Linked DNA regions of Homo sapiens: regions 2 and 3 are each linked to region 1. Evidence: promoter capture Hi-C in 16 types of primary human blood cells and fetal thymus (Javierre and others, 2016). All regions are on one chromosome and are shown on one strand. Each heading gives the region's core, a stretch centred on a gene start or on the middle of the fragment in contact. The rest is flanking DNA. Distances are from core to core; before and after follow the strand shown. Region 1 holds the start of AHCTF1 (AT-hook containing transcription factor 1). Region 2 holds the start of SH3BP5L (SH3 binding domain protein 5 like). Region 3 overlaps DRC8 (dynein regulatory complex subunit 8).

Region 1 (3,483 bases), core at 913-3,412:
GCTCACTAGCAGCACACCTGAGTTGATAATTCATGTCTTCTGACTATCGAGAGGTACAGTACTCATGAACTGGGCATAAAACAGTGCCAAAGAAAGTGTAGAATATGGAGCATGTGACATAAATCAGCACATCCAACAGAGGGTGGTTTCTGTTTGAAGAGATCTCTTTAAAATAATTAAGACAACGAACCCCAAACCTCCTACTGCAAAAGCAGTACTCTTTTTAACTGTTTCTATCACAACTTGGTCCAATACCTTGTGCAAACAAACATGATATGTATGGAGGTTGCTGTTACTAAAGAAACAAAAATTACAGAAAAAAGAAAATTACATTTCCAAAAGGCAGCATTATCTCTGAAAGAATATGGGCCAGGCATGATATCCATGCCTGTAGTCCCAGCTGCTCGGGAAGCTGAGGTGGGAGGATAGCTTGAGCCTAGAAGTTGGAGGCAGCAGTGGCACTGATGAGGCCATAGTGCCTGCGAATAGCCATGCACTCCAGTCTGAGCAACACAGCAAGACACAGTCTCTACAAAAATAAAAATAGGCTGGGCATGGTGGCTCATGTCTGTAATCCCAGCACGTTGAGAGGCTGAGGCAGGAGGATCTCTTGAGCCCAGGAGTAGAGACCAGCTTGGGTAACACAGTGAGACAGTCTCTACAAAAAATAAAAAATAAGGCCGGGCGCGGTGGCTCACGCCTATAATCCCAGCACTTTGGGAGGCTGAGGCAGGTGGATCACGAGGTCAAGAGTTCAAGACCATCCTGGCCAACATGGTGAAACCCTGTCTCTACTAAAAATACAAAAATCAGCTGGGCATGGTGGCGCACACCTGTAGTCCTAGCTACTCTGGAGGCTGAGACAGGAGAACCTCTTGAACCTGGGAGGCGGAGGTTGCAGTGAGCCGAGATTGTGCCACTGCACTCCAGCCTGGTGACAGAGCGAGACTCCGTCTCAAATAAATAAATAAATAAATAAATAAATAAAATAAAAAAATTAATGGGACGTAGTGGCGCATGGTGGTCCATGCCCATAGTCCCAGCTACTTGGAGGGCTGAGGTAGGAGGATCATTTGAGCCCACGAGTTCGAGGCTGCTGTGAGCCTTGATTACACCACTGCACTCCAGCCTGGGCGACAGAGCGAGACACTGTCTCAAAAATAAAAAAATTTAAAAAGCACATATGAAAGGTAACAGAAAAGTAGAAACTTTCCTGATAAAAGAGCATCTTCTTAAAATCCCTACTCTACCTCATGTTATAATCCTTTTACTTACTACTTAGTATTAAGGATACGTTCCCTATCTGTTTGAAACATGTTTGGCGCTGGGATTTGCTTCAAAGGAAGATACTAACAAGAAATAAGAAATTCCACAATGAAAACCCGCGGTGACCAAAAAGATAACAGTGATTTGGGGTAAAATTTTGACTAAAAAGATTAGGCTAGGCTGCGCGAGCATTTTTGGCCATGAAAGCACAGGAGGATGCTAGAAAAAACAGCACCGTGGAAAAAGCGTTTCCCCAGAAGTCTGGGAGCCCACCTTTGGCATGAAAAGCGGGAGCACAGGTTGTAGTGAGCCAAGATCGTGCCACAGCACTCCAGCCTGGGCAACAGAGCAAGACTCCGTCTCCAAAAAAAAGAAAAAGAAAAAAAGAAAAGTGGGAGCACAGAACAGAAAATACAGAATGCAAGCTGCCAATTATGGGAGAAAGATTATCACTCGGCCCCCAGCTGGCAGGGCCACACGATTACGTGACAAGAGAGTCCGCCTGCAATCGCAGCAGGCGGCTGGCAGAGCCCGGCGCGACCCCCAGCGAAGACTACCACTCCCAACTGCGCACGGGGCGCGCCGCCGGGGCCGCCAGGGCGGCTTCACGCGCAAGGCACTGTGGGACTCGTAGTCTTTCTCCCCACCAGCTCCTCGGAGGCGGAGAGACCCGATTTTTTTGTAAATGATCCGCCCTTCCAGGCCCTGCTTCTCTTTCCTCCCTTTCCCTCCCACCTCCTTCTTTCACCGAGAGTTTGAAAATTCCCGCGGAGCCGGCGCTAGAGCGCGGAACCATCGCGAGAACTCTGGTCCCTGCAGCCGCGATCTCCCGCCGGTTCTCCCCTCCCTCTCCGCCCTTTCCTCTGCTCCCTCCCTTCCGGGGCGTGTGGAACTCGGTTTTGTCGGCGCAGGGTAATGCGCAGAGCGGGGCCGGCGCTGTCCGAGGCGAGCAGGCAGCGTTGCAAGGGGAAGGACCCAGAAGCGCGGCGGGAGCAGCGACTGCGTTTTAGCCGCTGAGCGGTCTGCAGGCCTACAGCCCGCGAAGGCACTCTCGGGGGCGTGTGGCTCTGAGGTGGCCGGGGAGGTCGCAGGCGGCGGCCGGAGCGCAGAGGAGCGGCTTCAGCCGGGCGGAGGGGTGTGAGCCCGGCCCGTGGCGGCCACGTCTCCCGGGAGATGCTGTGACGGACCCGCACGGGAGGAGCTCGCGCCTGGCCTGGCGACCCGGTGGACTCGGCCCGCGGCGGCGCGCTCACCCGCCCCGTTCAGGTAGGGGGAAGGGAGGGAGGGGGTTGGGCCCGCGCGGCGGAGGGCGGGTCGCGCGGCCTGGACCCGCGGCGGCGGCGGCGGCGGCGGCGGCGGCGGCGGGGCTTCTGCCCCGCGAGCGCCGGGCCTAGGCCGGGCGTGCGCGGGGCCAACGGATGGGGCTCGAGGGGGCGAGCGGTGGCGGTGGCGGGTACGGCAGGCTCGCGGGCGCCGGGCTTCGTTACATAATCTCGGACCGGAGGAGCGGCGGCACATGGCGGCGGAGCGGCGCTGGTGGTTCGCGTCCTGCGCCGGCAGTCGGGTCCCTTTACGGACGGCCGGGGCCGCGACCCTTTCCCACTGTTCTCCCACGCGATGGACTCGTTGGCGGGCCTTTCCCCGAGGGAAGCGGCCGGCGTGCTGAGCCTGTCCTGTGTTGGCGTGTGTTCCACATGCGCTTGGGCCTGGCCACAGTGAGTAGTCCTGGCGGGGAAGAAGTTGGACTCGGGGCTCAGCCGTGAGGTTCCAGCTCACCCGATTGGTCAGATCAAGGAGATTTAAAATAAAAGCACATCTTGGGGTGCTTTGCCTTCCTTTTTCCTACCTGGGAAACAGGACGGTTTCTTTTGCCACTGGTTGACTGTTTTGGTTTGGGTGTTTTGTTTTGAGAGATGGGGAAATTTTGTTCTCAAAGCTTACGAGGTTCATACTATCTGTGTGCAAAGTTTTATGAGATGAGCGTTATTTTTATTTCCAAATCGTCAGTTGTAGAAATTTTTGGAAGAACTGGGTTCTTCATAGAACAAAACGTAAATCCTTTGGGGAAATCCTAAACGATATTTATTCTCAGAATATCCTAAAGAACCTGTAGATTTTAAGAACTGTCTTTGGCTGGGCGCAGTGGCTCCTGTCTGTAATCCCAGCACTTTGAGAGGCTGAGGCGGGAGGATCGCTTGAACCCAGGAGTTTGAGACC
Region 2 (3,865 bases), core at 1,248-3,747, 1.9 Mb before region 1:
TAGAGGTGACAAGCAGGCGCTCGCTCAGGGACCTAGGTAACGATACACAATGCCATGTAACAAACTCCTGCTCATCGAGGGCATCTGACCCTGGGTGCACGAGTGAATTAACTGAGTTAATGTTGACTAAGTTCCTGGTTAGTATTCACGGAGCAATTGGTGACCCCACCAAAACGTCGTTCAAGGTGCAAGGTCCAGAGGCCTCGAGGAGTGGGATTTACACATCGGAGCCGTCCGCTCAGACGCCGTTAGTGGAGGGTTCCGCCGACTTCACGGGAGTGAGGAAAGTCACTTTTGGAAATCGACTTTGCCTTCGCCCGCGAAGCCCGCCAGCGTCCGGACTCGAGTTGCCCCCGGAGCCACTGCCGGAAGTTTACCAGCTCACTTTCGGCGTCGCGCCCGCCTCCGTGGAGCAGGCCGGAAGTGGCTTTCCGGCAGCCGCCGCCGCAGCTCCGTAAAGCAAGATGGCACTACTCACTCTGAGGCTATTATCTCCGTTTTATATCTAGTATTCCTCTTCTCACCAGTTACTCTCGATTTCCGTCCCGCGCCCTAATTTTCTTCAGCACCACATTCTCATGTTTTTCTTTCATTCAGCCTTGGTGGAGTATGGTCTGGAGGCAACCTACGGCTAGCCTGAGCAACGTGGGGCACCATTTTGTACGGAAACTGAAGGCAGGGCGGGGGAGTGTGAGGCCTCCCGAGGAGGCCCGGCTTGAGAGAGAGCGTGGGAGGGAGAGCGTTGTTCACCGATGATGTATTTCCGCTTCTGGTCTGCCTGGTCGTTTTTGGTTGGATCGGCTTGTTGCGGGGAGGGAGGGGGGGAGATTGTTTGCAGCATAGAAGCTCCGCGGACGGGAAGGTAAACTGAGGTAAGGCTGTGCGGGGGGCTTTTGCGCATGGCTGGGTAGAATGGACGGGAGTAGGGTCCTTGGGATTGCGGAAGAGTGTGGAATTGGAGACGGGAGGCTTAGATGTCTCGGGTTGGACAGAGAAGGTGGGGTGGGGCTCGGGGTTACAAGGTGAATCGCAAAGCCGGGCTGGGGTGGAGTGGGACGAGCGGGAGACCACAGGAGATGGAGGAGAGCCTAGGGGTGCAGAGGAAAGTCTCGAAGGCGCTGGTTGAGGAGGGCCTGGGTCGAGAGGAGCTGGGACGGGGGAAGAGTAGAATCTAAAGTCCTTGAGGGCTAAGGAGAGAAGTTGAGGTAGGGACTGGTCGGAATACATGGGTGGGGGCGTGGTGAGAGTGTAGTTTTTGGGAGGCTGTAGAGTTGGAAGGGGCTGGTGGCTGCGGTTTTGATGCTGACATGACCATATACTTGGCCTTTGTTTCTCTGCAGCTCCCCAGAGACGCTCATCCTACAGCCTCAGCTCGGGCCCAGCCTTCTCTCTCCAGCTGCCACCACAGCCTGGAGGCGCCTGCCTCCACCCTCCCGAATGGTGCTCCTCCTAGCAGGCCTCGGTCCAGGATCCAAGCCCCCTTTGCCCCCTGCCTTGGAGCTGTTGCTCCGGGTTTGTCACAGTGGACTCCCTGTGGCGGGAAGGGAAGAACTTTTGCACAGACAAGGCTTCAGCTCTAGGAACCCCACTGACAACTTGAATCTCAACCTCTAACCTAGTGTGAGGTTCTTCCTGTGCCCACCTTTTCTGCCTTTTGAGAAGAGAAACTCTTCTCCTGGCCATCTAGAGCCCAGGAAGCCCCAAGCTGGGGCCCTGGTCCCAGCATGTCAGTCCTCTCTTGTGCATAGGGCTCTGCCCTCCCCCTGTCAGCATGGCTGAGCTCAGACAGGTTCCAGGAGGGCGGGAGACCCCACAGGGGGAGCTGCGGCCTGAAGTTGTAGAGGATGAAGTCCCTAGGAGCCCAGTCGCAGAAGAGCCTGGAGGAGGTGGAAGCAGCAGCAGTGAGGCCAAATTGTCCCCAAGAGAGGAGGAAGAACTGGATCCTAGAATACAGGTGAGAGCACTGAGAGCAGGGAGAGAAGGAGAGCCCAGATTCCAGCCTCCCTGAAGAGTGTTGGATGAATGAGGGCTTAGACTTACTCTGTCCCCAGTCTGCTGGGGCAGGAAAGGAGAACAAGTTTGTCAACAAATCATTGCAGGGTAATGTAACAAGTTCCAAAAGAGTTGTGTGTCTGAAGTGCTGATGGAGTGCAGAGAAAGGCCTGGCCTTAGTGCTTGGGAGGCATTGCTGAAAGCTTCACTGAAGGAGCAAAGTGTCACTTGGCAGTAGATGGAGGAGGCACACTTTAGGTCAGTGGAGGGTAGGTGTGTTGTACTTCTTTCCAGATAAGCAGAGGGGCTGCCACCTTAGTTAGGGATGCTGTGTGAGAGGAGATGACTTTGATACTGGGGGACAGTTTTGAGGCTGAGTGAGAGAATCTTTTCCCCTTTCTCACCTTCTCAGCGGTACCTTCCAGGGATGTGCGGCCCACATTGCTCTGATAATGTGTTTCACCCTTGTAAACAGTGAGACCTTTCCAGTGTTATAAAGGTAGCATCAACTTTAGATCTATAAAGAAACCCCATATGTTCAAGGATTTGTAACTTTTGTTGTGGCCAATCCTTAGTAACATACATACCTGGCCCTCAGGATAGTGGGTCTCCTAAAGGAATGGAAGAGCAGTTTATTGCCTTGGAGTGTCTACAATCTAGTTGGTAGGACAGGCAGATCTTTGTGTAGGAGACCTGGGGGTAGTCAGTGAGGAAGACCAACTCCATGTGGAAGAGATGCCTGGCCAATCAAAGCTGGGTTGCAGTGTTTCAGGGAATTGGCTGAGAATGACTTCCTGAGGAAGCTTCTTGGGCAGGTGACGACCAGGATGCTCCTGCATGTTTGGGGCTTGAGTCTGCCATTTGTTCCGGTCACATCTCCAAGACTCTGATGTTGTGGAAGTGACTCTTCTGTAGGTGAGCAAGAACATATGAAGGCTCAAATTCCTAGGCTTATCTGTCAGCAAACCTTTATTGGATTACTCCAGTGAGTTGGGAAGAAATCAAAGCCAGTCCTGGCATTCTTCCTTCACTCTCTGTGTGGGTTCCTGGGATATGTGTGTGTGTGTGGGTTCCTCTTCTACTGTGTCCATGCTTATAATGGAGCAGTGGTGAGCCATTTGTTTCTGGCATGAGTCAGTAATTTATTTCTGCTCTGCCTGACATTGCATTGAAAACAGCCAATTTTTCTTGCTATTTCTACAGATTTATCATCCTCTGAGGAAATCAGTTGTAGTGAAAAAAGTCTTGGGCTGAGTTTCACGCTACCTCCAACCCCATGATTTATGATTTTTATGGAAGTTTCTTTACGTTTCTGAGCCTCAGTTTCTTCATCTGTAAAGTGAGCAGTTGGTCTAGCTGATTTGCACAACTCATTCTTGCTCTGCTCTGACACAAGTCTACAGTTCTTTCTCAAACTCTTTTTGCTTGTTCCTTGGTGATAGTTTGTAGATAGCACTTTGGGAAAGAGCTGTCTCTCTGTTGCTTGTGGAGGAGGGCTGTGTAATGTGCATTATATGCCTCCCTACAGCCTTCCTTGCCCTGCTCCAGAGAAGGCTTCTGCAGAGGAGAATCCACTGTGGTCTCTTTACTTGGCCTCTACTACTCCTATGTATTTTTCCAGTGTCTGCATAGGCACATGGTAGTAGTAGGAAGAGTCATGCTTGCATTGTGCTGTCTAATAGGGTGGACTAGCTGCATGTGGCTATTTAAACACAATCAATTAAAATTAACATGTAAAAATGCAGTTCCTCGGCCAGGCATGGTGGCTCACACCTGTAATCCCAGCATGTTGGGAGGCCGAGGCAGGTGGATCACCTGAGGTCAGGAGTTTGAGACCAGCCTGGCCAACATGGTGAAAACCCGTCTCTACTAA
Region 3 (3,558 bases), core at 388-2,887, 2.0 Mb after region 1:
CACGCCCAGCTAATTTTTTTTTTTTTTTTTTTTTTTTTTTTTAGTAGAGACGGGGTTTCACCGTGTTAGCCAGAATGGTCTTGATCTCCTGACCTCGTGATCCACCTGCCTCGGCCTCCCAAAGTGCTGGGATTACAGGCGTGAGCCACTGCACCCGGCCTTGTTAAAAACTTTTAATCACTCACCAATGCTTTAAGAATAAAAATTCCCACATCTCCTAACCCATCCTAAATTTCGGCCATATTGAGTCTTCACAATTTCAAGTATGTTATTTCTTCTCTTCCTGAAATATCCATCCCCTACTTGTTCTCTGTGCTATTACACCTTCAAGATAAGCCTGGGGCTGGGAGTCGTGGCTCACACCTGTAATACCAACACTTTGGGAGGCCAAGGTGGGCGGATCACATGAGGTCAGGAGTTCCAGACCAGCCTGGCCAACATGGTGAAACCCCGTCTCTACTAAAAATACAAAAATTAGGCCAGGCGCAGTGGCTCACACCTGTAATCCTAGTACTTTGGGAGGCCAAGGCAGGCGGATCATTTGAGGTCAGGAGTTCGAGACCAGACTGGCCAGTATGGTGAAACCCCGTCTACTAAAAATATAAAAAAATGAGCCCAGCATGGTGGCACATGTCTGTAATCCCAGCTACTTGGGAGGCTGAGACATAAGAATCGCTTGAACCCAGGAGGCAGAGGTTGCAGTGAGCCGAGATCACGCCACTGCATTCCAACCTGGGCGACAAGAGCAAGACTACGTCTCAAAAAAAAAAAAAAAAAAAAAAAAAAAAAAGATAAGCTTCGGTTATCTCCTTCAGAAAGCCAACTTTGATTCAACATTCAGCAAATACTGAGCTATATGCCATGCTCTGGGTATATGCATGAGCATGACCCCTATCCTTTTGGAAGTTAAGAGTCTAGGAGAAGCAGACATCAAACAACACATCTACAGGCAATTACAAAATATAGTATGAAAGAGGAAAAAAACAAATAGCTATGAGAGGGAATAAAAAGGGGCTATAATTTAAAGAGGGTGTGTGTGAATCAGGTGACTCTCCCCAGGCACCCAATCATCATACATGTGCAACTATCATAGCACTTATCACATTATTGTATCATTGTCTCCTTAGCTGCCTATCTTCCTCTTTAGATGGAAATTCTTCAAACCAAAGGTCAGATAAATTGACACTAACAAGCAAAATCTTAAAAAGAATAAAAAAAAAGGCAATGTCCAAATTCTAGTCCAGGTTTTTAAACTCCCAATTTTACTAGTGCATTTAAAAAAATAAAATTATGGGCCAGAGGTGGTGGCTCAAGCCTGTAATCCCAGCACTTTGGGAGGCCAAGGTGGTAGGATTGCCTGAGGCCAGGAGTTTGAGACTAGCCTGGGCAACAGAGCAAGATCTTATCTCTACCAAAAATAAAAATGTTAGTTGGGCACAGTGGCACGCCCCTGCAGTCCCAGCTACTTGGGAGGCCAAAGTGGGAAGATCACTTGAGCCCAGAAAGTAGAGGCTACAGTGAGCTGTGATCAAGCCACTGCACCCCAGCCAGGGTGACAGAGTGAGACCTCGTCTCTTTTTTTTTTTTTTTTGAGACGGAGTTCCGCTCTTGTTGCCTAGGCTGGAGTAAAATGGTGCTCTCAGCTCATCACAACCTCCGCCTCCCGGGTTCAAGTGATTCTCCTACCTCAGCCTCCCGAGTAGCTGGGATAACAGGCATGCGCCACCATGCCCAGCTAATTTTGTATTTTTAATAGAGACGGGGTTTTCCCGTGTTGGCCAGGCTGGTCTTGAATTTCCAACCTCAGGCGATCCGCCAGCCTCAGCCTCCCAAAGTGCTGAGATTACAGGCGTGAGCCACTGCGCCCGGCCTAGATCTCATCTCTTAAAAAATAAAAATAAAAACTAAAATTACTTTTTTACAGTCTTAATATCTATAAAATCCATACTAGAGGTTTACAAAGGATTGTCAAGTACAGGATCTGGTAAACACACTTTCACAAGTGGGTAAGAATAATTTTTAATTAGCATATTTAAGTGGGTTTTTAAAGTTTTGTAGAACTGACATTAAAATGAGATTTTAAAAATAAGTGCCCCTAAAAGTCTAATCACCCTGCTATCATCATCATCTCCTGGGCTCCCCCACGTGTCCTTACCCATTTACACATATAATTTTTATATATTTGGCTGCAACCCAACAAGTGGACATACAACCATTTATTTTGTATGCCCCATTAGTTGGACATGCAAATGTTATCTATATTTTCAAATTTATAGATAACTTTATGTTGATCATTTTTGTGCTTAGAGCATTTTTTATTCTTTTCAGAATATATTTCTAAGGATAAATATCCAGAAGTATATTAAAGCTCAAAGCATGTGGACATCACTTTTTATTATTATTTTTTATTTTTTTGGTTTTAAGAAATAGAGAGTTTAACAGGCAAGAAGGAGCAAGAAAGGAGAAGGAAGAAGCTTCCCTGTACAGAGACAGAGGGATGGGGGCTCCAAAGCCAACAGAGGGAACCCCCGACTTCTTTATTATTATTTATTTTATTTTTAGCAAAGATGAGGTCTCAGCATGTTGCCCAGGCTGGTCTCGAACTCCTGGTCTCAAGTAATCCTCCTACCTCAGCCTCCCAAAGTGCTGAGTTTACAGATGTGAGCCACCTTGCCTAGCCATCATCATTTATTCTTCAATACAAATTTCCAAATTGCCTTTGAAAAACAATGTACCATTTCTTTCATTCTGAATGTACTCAACATTTTCTATTTACTAAAATGTGGTAAAATACACATAATGTAAAACTTACTGTATTAACCACTTTTAACCATATAGTTCAATAGTGTTAAGTACCTTCACACTGCTGGGCAACCAATCTCCAGAACTTCCTTCATCTTGCAGAACTGGAACTCTACACTCCTTAAACAACTTCCCATTCTCCTCTCCCCACAGCCCCTGGCAACCAGCAATCTACTTTCTGTCTCCATGAATTTGACTTCTCTAGGTACCTCATGTAAGTGGAATCACAGAGTATTTGTCTTTTTGACTGGCTTATTTCACTTAGCATGATGTCTTTCAGGTTCATTCAAGCGGTAGCATGTGTCAGAATTTCCTCCTTTGAAGGCTGAATAATATTTCACTACACGTATATACCACATTTGGTTTGTTCATTCATCCGCTGATGGACACTTGGCTTGCTTCCACCTTTTACCTACTGTGAACAATGTGCTATGAACATGGTTGTGCAAATATCTCTTCGAGGCCTTGCTTTCAATTACTGTGGATATATACCCACACGTGGAACTGCTGGGTCACATGGTAACTCAACTTTTAACTTTCTGAGGAACCGCCATACCACTTTCCATAGTAGCTGCACCATTTCTCATTGCCACCAACAGTCCACGAGGGTTCCAGTTTCTCCACATCCTCACCAATACTTATTATTTGGGGGACTTCTGGTGATAATAGCCTTCCTAACAGGCGTGAGGTAGTATCTCACTGTCCATTTGATCTTTAAAATTATGACTATTCTTGAGACATTTCTGTAAATTTTAT

The links. Contacts are between HindIII fragments. The CHiCAGO score rates a contact against its expected background, and 5 or more counts as called.
Region 2: a fragment that was not itself captured here is called in contact with the fragment with the promoter of AHCTF1 in region 1 in 2 of 17 cell types (fetal thymus and total CD4 T cells); the score reaches 7.1 in fetal thymus.
Region 3: a fragment that was not itself captured here is called in contact with the fragment with the promoter of AHCTF1 in region 1 in 1 of 17 cell types (fetal thymus); the score reaches 7.7 in fetal thymus.

What each region holds. Positions count from the first base shown.
Region 1 is chr1:246,930,627-246,934,109 of GRCh38, reverse strand. AHCTF1 (AT-hook containing transcription factor 1) reads left to right here and starts at 2,162. Exons shown (of 36, transcript NM_001323342.2): 1 at 2,162-2,532. RefSeq lists enhancers at 1,780-1,829, 2,950-3,039 and a silencer at 2,510-2,609. The HindIII fragment of the contact is 4,479 bases long and covers 1-3,204 here.
Region 2 is chr1:248,822,842-248,826,706 of GRCh38, reverse strand. It overlaps SH3BP5L (SH3 binding domain protein 5 like), which reads left to right and starts at 792. Exons shown (of 7, transcript NM_030645.3): 1 at 792-872; 2 at 1,341-1,954. The coding sequence starts at 1,772. MIR3124 (microRNA 3124) reads right to left here and starts at 330; the gene lies at 264-330. RefSeq lists enhancers at 101-200, 271-320, 1-446, 431-690, 447-998 and 1 more. The HindIII fragment of the contact is 600 bases long and covers 2,198-2,797 here.
Region 3 is chr1:244,976,525-244,980,082 of GRCh38, reverse strand. All of the region lies in intron 2 of DRC8 (dynein regulatory complex subunit 8), which reads right to left. Among named protein-coding and RNA genes, the nearest start is that of EFCAB2-AS1, 7.4 kb to the right of the region's middle. The HindIII fragment of the contact is 1,678 bases long and covers 799-2,476 here.